Linked DNA regions of Homo sapiens: all the other regions are linked to region 2. The links are contacts of gene promoters, found by promoter capture Hi-C in blood cells and fetal thymus (Javierre and others, 2016). All regions are on one chromosome and are shown on one strand. Each heading gives the region's core, a stretch centred on a gene start or on the middle of the fragment in contact. The rest is flanking DNA. Distances are from core to core; before and after follow the strand shown.

Region 1 (2,715 bases), core at 177-2,676, 2.0 Mb before region 2:
TTTCTACCACACGATAAATAGAAACTCAGGTTACTAGAATCTTGCTGTGTCTGACATGGGAATAATAACCAAGAAGAAAAAGGTTCAGTAAAAATCTATAACTCATATGAAATATTTATATTTTCTGCTAAGGAAATGACAGAAAAAAACATGGAAGAGGAAATTTTCTACAAAATTGATTTTTCTGTTGGTAGAAAGTTATATTCTGCTTTGCTTTATAGTGAGAACTAGTATTTTTAATGAAAAAAATATAATGAATAGTAGTGCTTGCTACTCTGCCACTGTGAAATTTCAAGCCTGAAATGGATACTAGGTATCATCTGGTCCAATCTCAATTTTTAAAAAGATATCTGACATAAACCAAAAGTAGCATTTTATCTGGAAAGTCTAAAATTGTGGAGCAAATCAGGTATTATGGTAAGTATTAGACGTAGTTTAGTCCCTATATAAAGCAAAATGAAACTTCACTTACGATGATTTCAGCAAAAATGTTGATTGGAAAATGTAACCACAGTATTTTTTTTCCCATACTGTCTGGCTACACAGCACCATAACCTAAGACTATGGTTTTATGACGCAATTACCTAGTGTTAACCTAGGTTATTATTTTTCACCAGACTGTCATGGTAGAATGGAACTTCTTTTTACTTATCTGTTTGTCTAACATACTTTACTTAAAGAACACTGATTCCCTAAGAACTCTAAACATAAAACAAATTAGACTTTAGAAAATACATGATTATTCTTCATTGAACTAAGTTGACAGTGGATACTAGCAGCATGGTTCTATTGGACAAAGCAAACATTGAGGAACATAAGAGATAATATACTAAAGTTATAGTTACTGTCACAGAGATGGAACATGCAACAGAAGCAATTCCTGATGCTCTGTTTTTGTCATTAGAGGACATTCTCCAACAAATAATATGTCCTTGTAAAAACCTAAGCACTTACCTGGAATTAGGCTGCATACTAATAAAAGAACATTTTAAAATTCGAGTAGCATTAGAAAAAATAAATACCTACTTTTAAATTAACACCTAGTGCTGCAGAAACATATCCTTGTTAGATCAAAACAGTACTGTCTAATATTATTCCAAGCCACATCAATCATACGTCAATTTCCTGGGAGAAAATCATCAGTTTATATCTACCTGTGTGACAGTCATATACCAACTGGAAAGTGAATCCATTGAATAATGTGTCTTTCTTTGGGTGACGTGAACACTTTCCTCCTCTTTGGATTTTATATCTACACAGCAGTCCATCAACTGTGAGATCAACTTTTGCAAAAAATGTTTCATATCTGTGGAATATAAAAAGTAAGAAAGCTTATCTCTGCCTCTTCTAAAAATAAAACCAAAGCTCTTGAAACTTCTTGCTGAGTGTATTACTTTTTTTTTTGGTAGAATGTGTTTTTTTATACTTACCATCAATACAGCTAATGTAACATTTAACATATTAACTACTGATGCTCATTAGTACCTTCATTAATTCAGACTAAGACTAAACCAAAGCTTATGTATATTATCTTTATTTTTTTTTTTTGAGATGGAGTCTCGCTCTGTTGCCCAGGCTGGAGTACAGTGGCAGGATCTCGGCTCAATACAACCTCTGCCTCCCGGGTTCAAGCAATTCTCCTGCCTCAAGCCTCCCCAGTAGCTGGGATTACAGGCGCGTGCCACCATACCCAGCTAATTTTTGTATTTTTTAGTAGAGACGGGGTTTTGCCATGTTGGCCAGGCTGGTCTCGAACTCCTCACCTCATGATCTGCCTGCCTCAGCCTCCCAAAGTGCTGGGATTACAAGCATCAAACACTGCTCCCAGCCATTTATGTATATTATCTATAATAAAAAGGTCACAGAAGCAAATGTGTAGATATGCAAACTATAAATTTTAGGAATATGTATTTAAATTACATAGGAAAATAAACAGTTTTCAAGTTCCCTAAGAAAAATCAAGTGTCATATGAATTATTTTACTGATTATAAATCTTTCATATAGCCATTTTTAAAGATGCCTTTAAGGGCTTTTACTTAATTTCAATCAGTTTATGAATATGAAAGCAATATAAGCACATAAATCTCTTTTATCAATCTAATCCAAACAAATTTTACCACATTAGGGCCAGGCATGGTGACTCAAGATGTAATCCCAGCACTTTGGGAAGCCAAGGCAGGAGGATTGTTTGAGCCCAGGAGTTCAAGACCAGTCTGGACAACACAGCAAGACCCAATCTCTACAAACAACAACAACAACAAAACCCCACAATGTAGCTGATGTAGCTGAGCGTAATGGCATGCACCTGTAGTCCTAGGTACTGGGGAAGCTGAAGTGGGAGAACTGCTTGAGGCCAGGAGTTCAAGCTGCACTGAGCTATGATCATGCTACTGTAGTACAGCCTAGGCAACAGAGTGAGACCCTGTCTCAAAAGAAAAAAAAAAAAAGCTTTTTAATATATTAGTGTGAACACTCTTTATGATTTCATGGGTTCACATGCTCAGGATTACCTCTGTCAGTGGACTATTTTTCACCATGGTGGCTTTTCAAAGTGGGACAATAAGATGATTTATGGCTGAAACATGAGCCCATGTGGTCTACTCTCTTTTGAGCTGACAAGAGCTCCTCATTCCCCAATTCTCAGCTTTCTGTCCTAAGTCTTTCTACTTATTAAACGTTTCACTGGGTTAAAGAATGCATCTCACAAAATGCCT
Region 2 (2,700 bases), core at 189-2,688:
CACAAACAGAAAAGTGTATTTGTGATGTTTAGACAATAATAGCTAATCGTGAGGATCAGTGAAATTGTTTACTTTTATACACCACTGTGGAGTTGGTACCACCATTCTACAAAGCAGTTTGACTGTATCAAGAATGTTTGTTTTTACCCTTTGACCCAGTAATTGTATTAAAGTTGATTCTAAATAATTAGAAATGTGCATAGGTTTATCATCAAGGATGGTAATATCAATGGACTTTAGTGGTTAGCAATAATGGAACAGGATGGTACATTCTGATAAAGGATAATAATGCATCATTAAAGATCCATGTTTTTGTAATACGGGAAAATATTCATGAAACTACATACATCATTAAAAAACATTTGTTTCCCCACTTTGAAGGATAAGATCCTAGGAAAGAGAGATGACAGGCACAGGCTCTGTCTTTAGAACGTGTTCAAATTCCGGCTTTGTTAGTTTTATGATCCTAAGTTCCTTTCTGTCTCAGTAATTTGCCTGTATAATGATTGAAACTATAGTACTGTACCTACACCATGGGGTGAATGCATGAAGGTCAAATGAAAGTGCTTAGTGTCTGTACCGCCTAAGTAAATTTTCGCGATAATAGTCTTCCTGCATCTCTCACTGTAGCGGACAATACAGAAAAAAAAATTTAGAAATGTGATGAATTAGTAAAGGGAAAACCCCATGAGACTCTATAAGAGGGATTTTACCTAATCTGCCAACCTGCCTCTTCCAAGCACTCGGATTTTGGTTGGGCTCCCGGAGCCGGCGTGAATTGAGCTCTACCCTTGCCCGTGAGCGCGCAAAAGAGATTTTGTTGGTGGGGTGGCGGCCTGATGAGTTGTAGTCTTTATTCTAGGGCTGTTTTACTCGCCACCCCCCCAGCCCCCAACACACCCCTTTTAAAATACCGACTCAAAGGCGTCCTCCTATCCCCCTCTCCCTTAGGCGTCACGCAAAGCTCGGACCTGCTCCCACCCGGAGCCGAGTGTACGGTGAGGCGCGGAGCGTTGCGGGGTCGGGGAAGCGCTACCACCCGCTCCATCCCTCTGCGGGTTCGTGTCACGAAGACTACAGTTCCCAGCGGGCTCCACGAGCTCCGGTTGCCCCTCAGGCAGCGCCCGGCGGCTACGGGGGTGCTGTAGTTTCTTCCGGGCTCCCTACAACCTTCTTCCCTCTCCTCCGCAATACAGGCAGTTACTGGGTGCTGGGGCTGTCCTTTGATTTCCGGAAATGGCCGGTCGCCAGTGTTGTCAGAGTTTCCACGGAAGACTGCGCGCTACTCCGGCCAGGAGGGCGGAGCGGCGAGACGCTAGAGGCTTTGCGCTGGGTGACGACTTCGGGCACGTTCTACGGCCGTTCCTCTGGTCGGCTGGGGACCGCGGCCGCGCACGCGCGGCGGGGGGCGTGGGGCTGGGCCCAGCCGGACGCGACCTCAGCCTGCGGCGGCTAACTGCCGGTAGGCGTCTGTGTGCGCCGCCAAGTCGGTGGGGCGGGGACGCGAGGTGTGGATGGGGGGTCGCCTTGACCTCTGCCTCAGCCAGTAGCGCAGTCTCGGCCTCGCCGTTACGGAGATGGTGCCCTGGGTGCGGACGATGGGGCAGAAGCTGAAGCAGCGGCTGCGACTGGACGTGGGACGCGAGATCTGCCGCCAGTACCCGCTGTTCTGCTTCCTGCTGCTCTGTCTCAGCGCCGCCTCCCTGCTTCTTAACAGGTAACGCCGCAGCGCGGAGCCTGGGCGGCGGCTTTTCTCCGAAGGTGCAGACGCCCGGCCCGTGCTGCTTAACCGTGCGGAGGCCGCGTAGCTGCGGGACTGGGGACCAGTGGGGAGAGCGAGCTCCGCAGAGGAGCGGCCTCGGGGAGCACGGCGGAGCGTCGAGGCCGGAAGCACAGGCCGGTGGGGTGGGGTTGATTGCCTCCTTTCCCGAGGCTTCGTCTCCTGAGCTACCTTTTTCTCATCCATTTCTCAAAACGAGTTCTTCATCTTCGTTGCTTTTCAAAAGTGAAATCCGTGTGTCGGCTCAAATTGAGACTGTACACAGGCAGTCAAGTCAGCTGACGGAGGAGTGTTCAAGGTCCAGTTCGTAGCCGCAATTTTAGGCAGAATCCGCACACCTGCAGCGCGTTCTTCCATCTCCCCACCTCCCACCCCCTCAGCTTGCAGCTGAAGCTTTTCCCGCAGTATTGTTGAATAAAACAGACGATCATAAAGATTTGTTGGACAGAAATCAGAAAGCAAAGTGGTACCCGTCCCAACATCCTTAGAATTTTTTATTTTTGAGACGGAGTCTCGCTCTGTCACCCAGGCTGGAGTGCAGTGGTGCGGTCTCGGCTCACCGCAAGCTCCTCCTCCCGGGTTCACGCCATTCTCCTGCCTCAGCCTCCCGAGTAGCTGGGGCTACAGGCGCCCGCCACCACGCCACCACGCTACCACGCTAATTTTTTTGTATTTTTTTTTTTTTTTTTTAGTAGAGACGGGGTTTCACCGTTTTAGCCAGGATGGTCTCGATCTCCTGACCTCGTGAGCCGCCTGCCTCGGCCTCCCGAAGTGCTGGGATTACAGGCGTGAGCCACCGCACCCGGCCACATCCCTATAATATTCTTAAGAGGACTTGATGCCACCCTCCCCAAAAAAACCTGAAATATTCCGAAAGGTTAAAATTGATAAATTCAATTGACATTTTGAAATCAGAAGAT
Region 3 (2,700 bases), core at 75-2,574, 2.1 Mb before region 2:
CTTCCCTACACCCACTCTCAGGAAGTTAGAAATATTTTTCTAGTCCTGGGAAAGCTGCCCTCTCTCAATACTGCTGCTATTTTTTCTCAGTGGCACTTGCTCCATTTTGTTATTACTGCCTCAAAGCACTGGGCATAATTCGCTTAATAGGTTTAGGCTTTTTGGAAACACAAAAGCTAGAAACCATTTCTGCTTTCCACTTGGTAATGTTCCTCTTCTGAAGCAATGAATCACGTGCTCGAATGTGATGCAAGGAATACATGCTTGAATGGAATGGAGTGGGAGAGAAAAAGAAGGGTGGAAATATGGGAGAAAAAAGTTACCATTAATTATTAAAAATATTATTCTATCACATATTCATCTTAAGACTTTTTTACACTTTTTTCTTTTATTTTAAATTATAAAATAATTTTCTTTGACAAATTATAATTTTATATAATGATGGGGTACGCAGTGATGTTATCATATATGTATATAATGTGGAATGACTGAATTAAGCTAATTAACATATCTGTCACCTTAAATACTTATCATTTATTTCTCCTAACTGAAACTTTGTACCCAAGACCCCTTTACATTCTCTCTTTTTTTTTTTTTTTTTTTTTTTGAGACAGAGTTTCGCTCTTGTTGCCCAGGCTGGAGCCCAATGGCATGATCTTGGCTCACTGCAACCTCAGCTTCCCAGGTTCAAGCGATTCTCCTGCCTCAGCCTCCTGAGTAGCTGGGATTACAGGCAGGCACCACCACGCACGGCTAATTTTGTATTTTTAGTAGAGATAGGGTTTCTCCATGTTGGTCGGTCTGGTCTTGAACTCCTGACCTCAGGTGATCCGCCTGCCTCGGCCTCCCAAAATGCTGGGATTACAGGCGTGAACCACCGCACCCAGCCTTTTTTATTTTTTATTTTTTTGAGATGGAGTATCGCTCTGTTGCCCGGTCTGGAGTGCGGTGGTGCGATCTCGGCTCACTGCCACCTCCACCTCCTAGGTTCAAGCAATTCTCCTGCCTCAGCCTCCTGAGTAGCTGGGATTACAGGTGCCTGCCAACACGACTGGCTAATTTTTGTAATTTTAGTAGAGACAGGGTTTCACCATCTTGGCCAGGCTGGTCTTGAACTCCTGACCTCAAATGATCCACCCATCTCGGCCTCCCAAAGTGCTGGGAATACAGGCATGAGACATCGCGCCCAGCCACATTCTTTTTATTTACTTATTTATTTATTTATTTGAGACAGGGTCTTGCCCTGTCACTAATGCTGGAGTGCAGTGATATGATCACAGCTCACTCAGCCTCAACATCCCGGGCTCCAGTGATCCTCCCACCGCATCCTCCCAAGTAGCTGGGACCACAGGCGAGTGCTACCATGCAGAGCTAATTTTTGTACTTTGGGTAGAAATAGGGTTTTGCCATATTGCCCAAGCTGGTCTTAAATTCCTGGGCTCAAGCTATCCTGCTGCCTTGGCCTCCCAAAGCACTAGCATTATAGGGGTGAGTCACCACACCTGGTCCCCTTTATGTTCTTGACAACCCCCAAAAACTTGTTTATGTGGGCTATATTGTATTGATGTTTATTGTTTTAGAAATTAAGATGGATAAATGTTTCAAGTATTTACTAATTCATTTAAAAATAACAATAAACCCATGACATGTTAACAAAAATGACTTTAAAAAAACCTGTGTTTTCCAAAACAAATGAACAAACAAAAAAGATTTACTGAGAAGAATGGCATCATGTATGTTTCTGCAAGTCTTTTTAATGTCCAGCATAAGAGAAGACAGTTGGATTCACATCTGTGGTTCTGTACTCAATGTGTTGTGATATATCACATGTCACATAGCTTCTAGAAAACTCCCCGATACACTGGTGAGCAAACGAGTGAAAGACACAAATGACATCTTAGTATTTGGTGAAAATACCTTTACCCAGAGGACCGCCTGAAAGGACCACACTTTAATAACTGTTTGATAACTGTTCTTTCAAATCATGACATATACGCAGTCTGGAGTGCTAGTCCTGGCAGGAAACATACATAGTCATCATCTTAAGGAGGCAATACATGGTCAAGGGCACTGATTTTGGAAGCAGACACTTCCAGGTTTGAAGCTCAGCTCCTCAACTTCCTACAGAGTGGCCTTGGGAAGGTTACTGAACTTTTCTAAATTCCAGATCTCCTACCTAGAAATAGAGAATAGTACCTACCTTACTGAGTTTTTGAAAGATAATGTAGTATTTTCCAAACTTCCTTAGTCATAACATTTGCCAAGTCCGTGTAAGACCTATACTATTATCCTCTTGGTGTTTTTCTGTTGCTCACTTTTTAAACTTCAATAAATGTTTTAAAAGGAAATTTTATATCACTGTTATAAATGCAACACTACTTGCCCTAAATTGAAGGTGCAATGAAAATTAAAGAACTTGTTGCCTGAGAAAGTGTTAAGCCTAAGGCCTACTCTTTTTTTATAACAAAAGGAAGTAAGTTGATGTTAGAAAGTCATTCAAGACCTGCACCAAAGGGAGACTCTCTGCCAGGTGTAATTAGGAGTCAGAGGCTTAAAGAAGGAACGGCTTTCTCAATATGTGATGCAATTTGATTTCTGCCTAGCCCATGTGCCACTAAACCATCAACTACCTGAAGCCATTTCCTGTATCACCCCACACTTAGGAGACAGTGAGATCATGCATGTAAGCACTAAGCTCAA
Region 4 (2,700 bases), core at 98-2,597, 2.1 Mb before region 2:
CCTGTTTTTTAGGACACCTAAGTGTTACTAATTCAGAAATGCTGTTCAGGGTCTAGGGATGGTTGACAAAGTATAGCCATATTTTTGTGTAGCCTGAGAGCTAAGAATGTTCTTTACATTTTTTAAATGGTTGGAAAAGAATCAAAAGAATTATTTTGTGACACGTGAGAATTATGTGAAATTCAAATTTCAGTGTCCATAAATAAAATTTTATTGGAACACAGCTGTGCTCATTCTTTTTTTTTTTTTTTTAAGTATTGTTCATTGCAGGTGACGATGGCAGAGTTTAATAGTTGTCACACACAGTATATTGCCCCGAAAACTCCATATTTGCTCTCTGGTGTTTACAGAAAAAGTTTGCTTACCCTCATGTGGGGTGTCAGCAGTGAGGTTTATAATACCCCTGGGTATGGAAAAGGAAAAGTGATCAGTGGAAGTAAGGGGAGGGGGAGCAGAAGCATTGAATATCGTTGGTGAAATGAATGCCTCTAGTAGCTGCATCAATACTTACCCTGGTAAGTTAGTTGAAAACCAAAGTATGCTTTACTATTGGTTTTTGAAACATCTCATAATACTACCATTTAGCCAAAAGATTGTCATGACATTCCCAAGAAAGAATTTTAATAAAACCAAAATATTGCAACATTATAAGAGACCGTCAATCAAATCCAGCACATTGTTTTCATTATGTAGTGAATGAATGGTCTGAAGATACCCTTCTGTGAATGTTAATGTATTTGTGAGTTTGTTAGGCACATTAATTCACATTGTTTATGGCTTGGTACCATTAATCTGCCTTAGGAATTGAATTCTGTGAAGAGTTAAGTTCCTTTGTAAGAACTCATTGTACTTGCTGGAAACTTGCCATTAAAAATGGAAACTGCAGCTTGTGAATGGGGAAGGGTTTACAGGAACATAGATTGTTCACCAGACATTGATGCATGCCTGCAAACGGAGACACCAGCTGGCTTCAATGAAATATAAATGGTTCTAGGCGAACAAATGAGACGTCTGTTGGAGGAGGCAGCATCTCTCTTCAGATGTCATTTACATTGAGCCAGAAGTATTTTTTAATATTTTGTGGTTATTTAGACAGCTGTTAAGTTGCTCCTAGTTTCTCACTGGATTTGGCAAATAAATGTTTTTAATGGTCTTTGTACTTTGAGTCTTAAACCTGATATTCTATTTAGGACTGTGTATGTAGCTGCAGTTACTGCATATTTCTGTGATTTATGCATTTAAGAATCCTGTAAGTTTATGGCCATTAAAAACTGCAGTTGTATTCATTACTAATATAGAGCTTTTTTTTTTTTTTTTTCTTGAGACAAAGTCTTACTCAGGCTGGAGTGCAGTGGCATGATCTCAACTCATTGCAACCTCCATCTCCTGGGTTCAAGCGATTCTCGAGCCTCAGCCTCTGGAGTAGCTGGGATTACAGGCGTGCGCCACCACACCTGGCTGATTTTGTTTTGTATTTTTAGTAGAGATGGGGTTTCACCATGTTGGCATGGCTGGTCTTGAACTCCTGACTTCAGGTGGTCCAACTGCCTTGGCCTCACACAGTGCTGGGATTATAGGTGTGAGCCTGTGCCGCCGGCTTTTTTTTTGTTCGTTTGTTTTGAGACGGAGTCTCACTCTGTCGCCTAGGCTAGAGTGCAGTGGCGCAATCTCAGCTCACTGCAACCTCCACCTCCTAGTTTCAAGAGATTCTCCTGCCTCAGCCTCCTGAGTAGCCGGGATTACAGGCGCACACCACCACGCCCGGCTAATTTTTGTATTTTTAGAAGAGATGGGGTTTCACCATGTTGGTCAGGTTGGTCTTGAACTCCTCACCTCATGATCCACCTGCCTCAGCCTCCCAAAGTGCTGGGATTACAGGCGTGAGCCACCGCGCCTGGCCTCCCTGGCTTTTTTTTTTTTTTTTTTGGATGGAGTCTCACTCTGTCCCCCAGGCTGGAGTGCAGTGGCACAATCTCGGCTCACTGCAAGCTCTGCCTCCCGGGTTCACGCCATTCTCCTGCCTCAGCCTACCAAGTAGTTGGGACTACAGGTGCCCGCCACCATGCCTGGCTAATATTTTGTATTTTTAGTAGAGATGGGGTTTCACCGTATTAGCCAGGATGGTCTCGATCTTCTGGCCTCATGATCTGCCCGTCTCAGCCTCCCAAAGTGCTGGGATTACAGACGTGAGCCACTGCGCCCAGCTCCCGGCTTTTTTATTAAGGTAGGAAAATAAAGCCTAACTTGAGCACAGCAACACATAGGCTAAACATGGCTAGATTAGAGGTTAGCCCCTCTTTAGGTGTGGAAGGTACTATTCACTATGGTTGCCACGGAGACATAACCTGAGATGTAAAGGAGAATAATATAAATTTCTTCAGTTTTTTAATGGCTTTATTGGAAAAAGAATGTAGTACATACTAATCGGGTCTTTGTTTTGTTTTTGTTTTCTGAGACAGTCTTGCTCTGTCCCAGGCTGGAGTGCAGCAGCACAATCTCGGCTCACTGCAATCTGCCTCCTGGGCTCAAATGATCCCCCTGCCTCAGCCTCTCAAGTACCTGGAGATACAGGCATGTGCCACCATGCCCAGCTAATTTTTGTATTTTTTTGTAGAGATGGGGTTTCACCATGTTGCCCAGGCTGGTTTCAAACTCCTGGGGCTCAAGCAATCTGCCCGCTTCAGCCTCCCAAAGTGCTGG
Region 5 (2,752 bases), core at 51-2,550, 2.1 Mb before region 2:
GTATGTGCTAAGTGAATGTCCCCATTTATGCTGAAATGAGTTCCTACCAAAATGTCAGTTTTCTGGATATTATTTGAAAGGAGTATTTTGGGTAGATTGGTCTACTAAATAATGTTGGAAAGCCAACCTCTTTTTTAATGTGAAAGTTTTTATCTTGCCAAATTTTAACTTTTTTATTTTAGAACAAATTCTGTACAACATAAAACAAGAGTATAAACGAATGCAGAAGAGAAGACATTTAGAAACGAGTTTCCAACAGACAGATCCGTGTTGTACTTCTGATGCACAGCCACATGCATTTCTCCTCAGTGGACCAGCTTCACCAGGTAATAACATTTCTTGTCATTTACAAAGTTTATTATTTAGAGTGGGAAAAGTCTAATCCAAGTTGTCTTTAGTCATTTAAGCTACTGTATCTCCTCTGAGTTTTAAAAAAACATTTATACAAGTAATGCATGACATCTTAAAAAATAATATGGTACAAAATAAGGAGTTACCACTGGATTCCCACTAACCAGAGACAACCACCTGCATATAATATCCCCAAAGTGGACATCCTGTAAGTACTATGATTTGTAGCCTTTATTAAAAAAAATTAACAATAGGCCAGGCACGGTGGCTCATGCCTGTAATCCCAGCACTTGGGGAGGCCGAGCGAGGTAGACAGGTCACTTGAGGTCAGGAGTTTGAGACCAGCCTGGCCAACATGGCAAAACTCTGTCTCTACTGAAAATAGAAAAATTAGCTGGGCGTGGTGGCACGCGCCTGTAGTCCCAGCCCCTCGGGAGCCTGAGGCATGAGAATCACTTGAACCCAGGAGGCGGAGGTTGCAGTGAGCTGAGATCATGCCACTGCACTCCAGCTTGGGCGACAGAGTGAGACTTTGTCTCAAAAAAAAAAATAATAACAATACTGTATGCTCCTTTGTTAGGTATAGATGTACCTTGTCATGACTGAACACTTAATGATAGATAATTCAACTTAGAAGTTTTGCTGGTATAGTATTTTAAGAACTATCCCTGTATACATACCCTGCCTCACACACTTGTCTTATTGGGCTAGATTTCTAAAGGTGGATTATTATTATTTTTTGATCCTGTATCTGTTTTTACCTACTTTTTGTTGGGGGGAATGTTTGCAAATAACCTTCCTTTTTTTTAAAAAAAAAAAAAAGGGGGGGGGCGGGGAATAAGGGCTACTTGAAGCAAAGAGAAAGTTGAAGGTTTTGCTGAGAGAGAGCCATCAATAGTGGCTCTTATCTTTAGTAAAGTTCTCAGGAAAATAGCTTTTCTTGTGACAACAGTTGCCTTTGTTCAACGCTTTCTCTCCTCCCCCTAGCAAGGGAAGGAAAACCTGGCAGAATAAAAAAATTTGCGGCTGGGCGCGGTGGCTCATGCCTGTAATCCCAGCACTTTGGGAGGCCAAGGCAGGTTTATCACGAGGTCAGGATATCGAGAACATCCTGGCTAACACAGTGAAACCCCGTCTCTACTAAAATCCAAAAAATTAGCTAGGCATGGTGGCAGGCGCCTGTAGTCTCAGCTACTGAGGTAGGAGAATGGCATGAACCCGGGAGGCAGAGCTTGCAGTGAGCAGAGATCGCGCCATTGCACTCCAACCTGGGTGACAGAATGAGACTCAAAAAAAAAAAAAAAAAAAAAATCAAAGACCATAACATAGTCAAATAAAATTAGATTAGGAAACATGAACTTGTTCAAAACTAAATACTGCCATGCCCATTGTGGGGGCCAGGTATTAGTGGTTGAAACATAGAGGTGAGGGTTGGGCACTAGACTGTATTAGCAGGAAACCAAGATCATTATTTCCTTACTCACTTTACTTAGAAGATCAGTTAACTGGCAGTCTTAAGTAACAAAGCTGGGAATGTGAAAGTAAATTAAGATGGCTTTGGATAATTATGGAATAAAGCTGGTGGGCTTTGTTATTGTGGTATGCACAGTTCTAATAAGCATAGTTAACTAGCTCCTGCCATGCAGGTTATAAGGAGCAAGTTAAGAGAGTAAGTAATATTGGTGGTACCAGGGCAAATTCACAGAGCGAGATGAAGAAACAATTGGTAACGAATGGTGCACTTGAATATGTATAAAATACTTTTAGCAGTATTACAGTAGATGTTATTACTACAAAATATTTTCTCTTTTATTAAAAATATCCTAATAGGTATAAAAATGCTGAAGGAATATTTGAAATTGACAGATGCTGATGTTGCAGCTGCTTTGGGATTCTTAGTGTGATGACAGTGTAGTTCTATGGTATAGAGTTTTGAGCATAGCATTATCAGCTCAATGCTTGAGCTTATTTTTCCATGCGAATTGTTGTTAACTTAATGGGAATTAGTGGTCAATGAGTTCAAAAACCTTTAGAATCATTTATGCTTCTCCAGCAAAGTAGATTTCAGAATGTCTTGTTTTGTTTTGTTTTGTTTTTGAGACAGGGTCTCACTCCGTTGCCCAGGCTGGAGTACAGTGGTGAGATCTTGGCTCACTGCAACCTCCACCTCAGCCTAGCCTGTAGCTAGAACTACAGGCACGTGCCACCACTCCCAGCCAATCTTTGTATTTTTATTAGAGACATGGTTTGCCATGTTGCGCAGGCTGGCCTTTAGCTCAAGGGTTCCACCTGCTTCGGCCTCCCAGAAAGTACTGGGATTACAGGTATGAGCCACCACACAAGCTAGGTTCCAGAATGTTTTTTAATCTTTTCTAAAAAGGATTCATGCTGTACCTTCTTT

The links. Contacts are between HindIII fragments. The CHiCAGO score rates a contact against its expected background, and 5 or more counts as called.
Region 1: a contact is called between a fragment that was not itself captured here and the fragment with the promoter of SNX14 in region 2, in 1 of 17 cell types (total B cells). The highest score is 5.6, in total B cells.
Region 3: a contact is called between a fragment that was not itself captured here and the fragment with the promoter of SNX14 in region 2, in 1 of 17 cell types (monocytes). The highest score is 5.4, in monocytes.
Region 4: a fragment that was not itself captured here is called in contact with the fragment with the promoter of SNX14 in region 2 in 9 of 17 cell types (non-activated CD4 T cells, naive CD8 T cells, M0 macrophages and 6 more); the score reaches 14.7 in non-activated CD4 T cells.
Region 5: a fragment that was not itself captured here is called in contact with the fragment with the promoter of SNX14 in region 2 in 3 of 17 cell types (total CD4 T cells, activated CD4 T cells and naive CD8 T cells); the score reaches 7.2 in total CD4 T cells.

Annotation. Positions count from the first base shown.
Region 1 is chr6:87,606,264-87,608,978 of GRCh38, reverse strand. It overlaps ORC3 (origin recognition complex subunit 3), which reads right to left. Exons shown (of 20, transcript NM_012381.4): 6 at 1,155-1,306. Among named protein-coding and RNA genes, the nearest start is that of ORC3, 17 kb to the right of the region's middle. The HindIII fragment of the contact is 186 bases long and covers 1,334-1,519 here.
Region 2 is chr6:85,592,596-85,595,295 of GRCh38, reverse strand. SNX14 (sorting nexin 14) reads left to right here and starts at 1,438. Exons shown (of 29, transcript NM_153816.6): 1 at 1,438-1,717. The coding sequence starts at 1,578. RefSeq lists enhancers at 1,146-1,265, 1,576-1,745, 1,194-1,777, 1,778-2,361, 2,362-2,700 and a silencer at 1,296-1,515. The HindIII fragment of the contact is 2,215 bases long and covers 1-2,175 here.
Region 3 is chr6:87,714,645-87,717,344 of GRCh38, reverse strand. No RefSeq gene overlaps it. Among named protein-coding and RNA genes, the nearest start is that of AKIRIN2, 14 kb to the right of the region's middle. The HindIII fragment of the contact is 6,779 bases long and covers 1-2,700 here.
Region 4 is chr6:87,695,926-87,698,625 of GRCh38, reverse strand. The region is part of intron 1 of AKIRIN2 (akirin 2); the gene reads left to right. Among named protein-coding and RNA genes, the nearest start is that of AKIRIN2, 5.0 kb to the left of the region's middle. RefSeq lists an enhancer at 1-137. The HindIII fragment of the contact is 2,873 bases long and covers 1-2,700 here.
Region 5 is chr6:87,679,194-87,681,945 of GRCh38, reverse strand. It overlaps AKIRIN2 (akirin 2), which reads left to right. Exons shown (of 5, transcript NM_018064.4): 2 at 183-326. Among named protein-coding and RNA genes, the nearest start is that of AKIRIN2, 22 kb to the left of the region's middle. The HindIII fragment of the contact is 6,659 bases long and covers 1-2,752 here.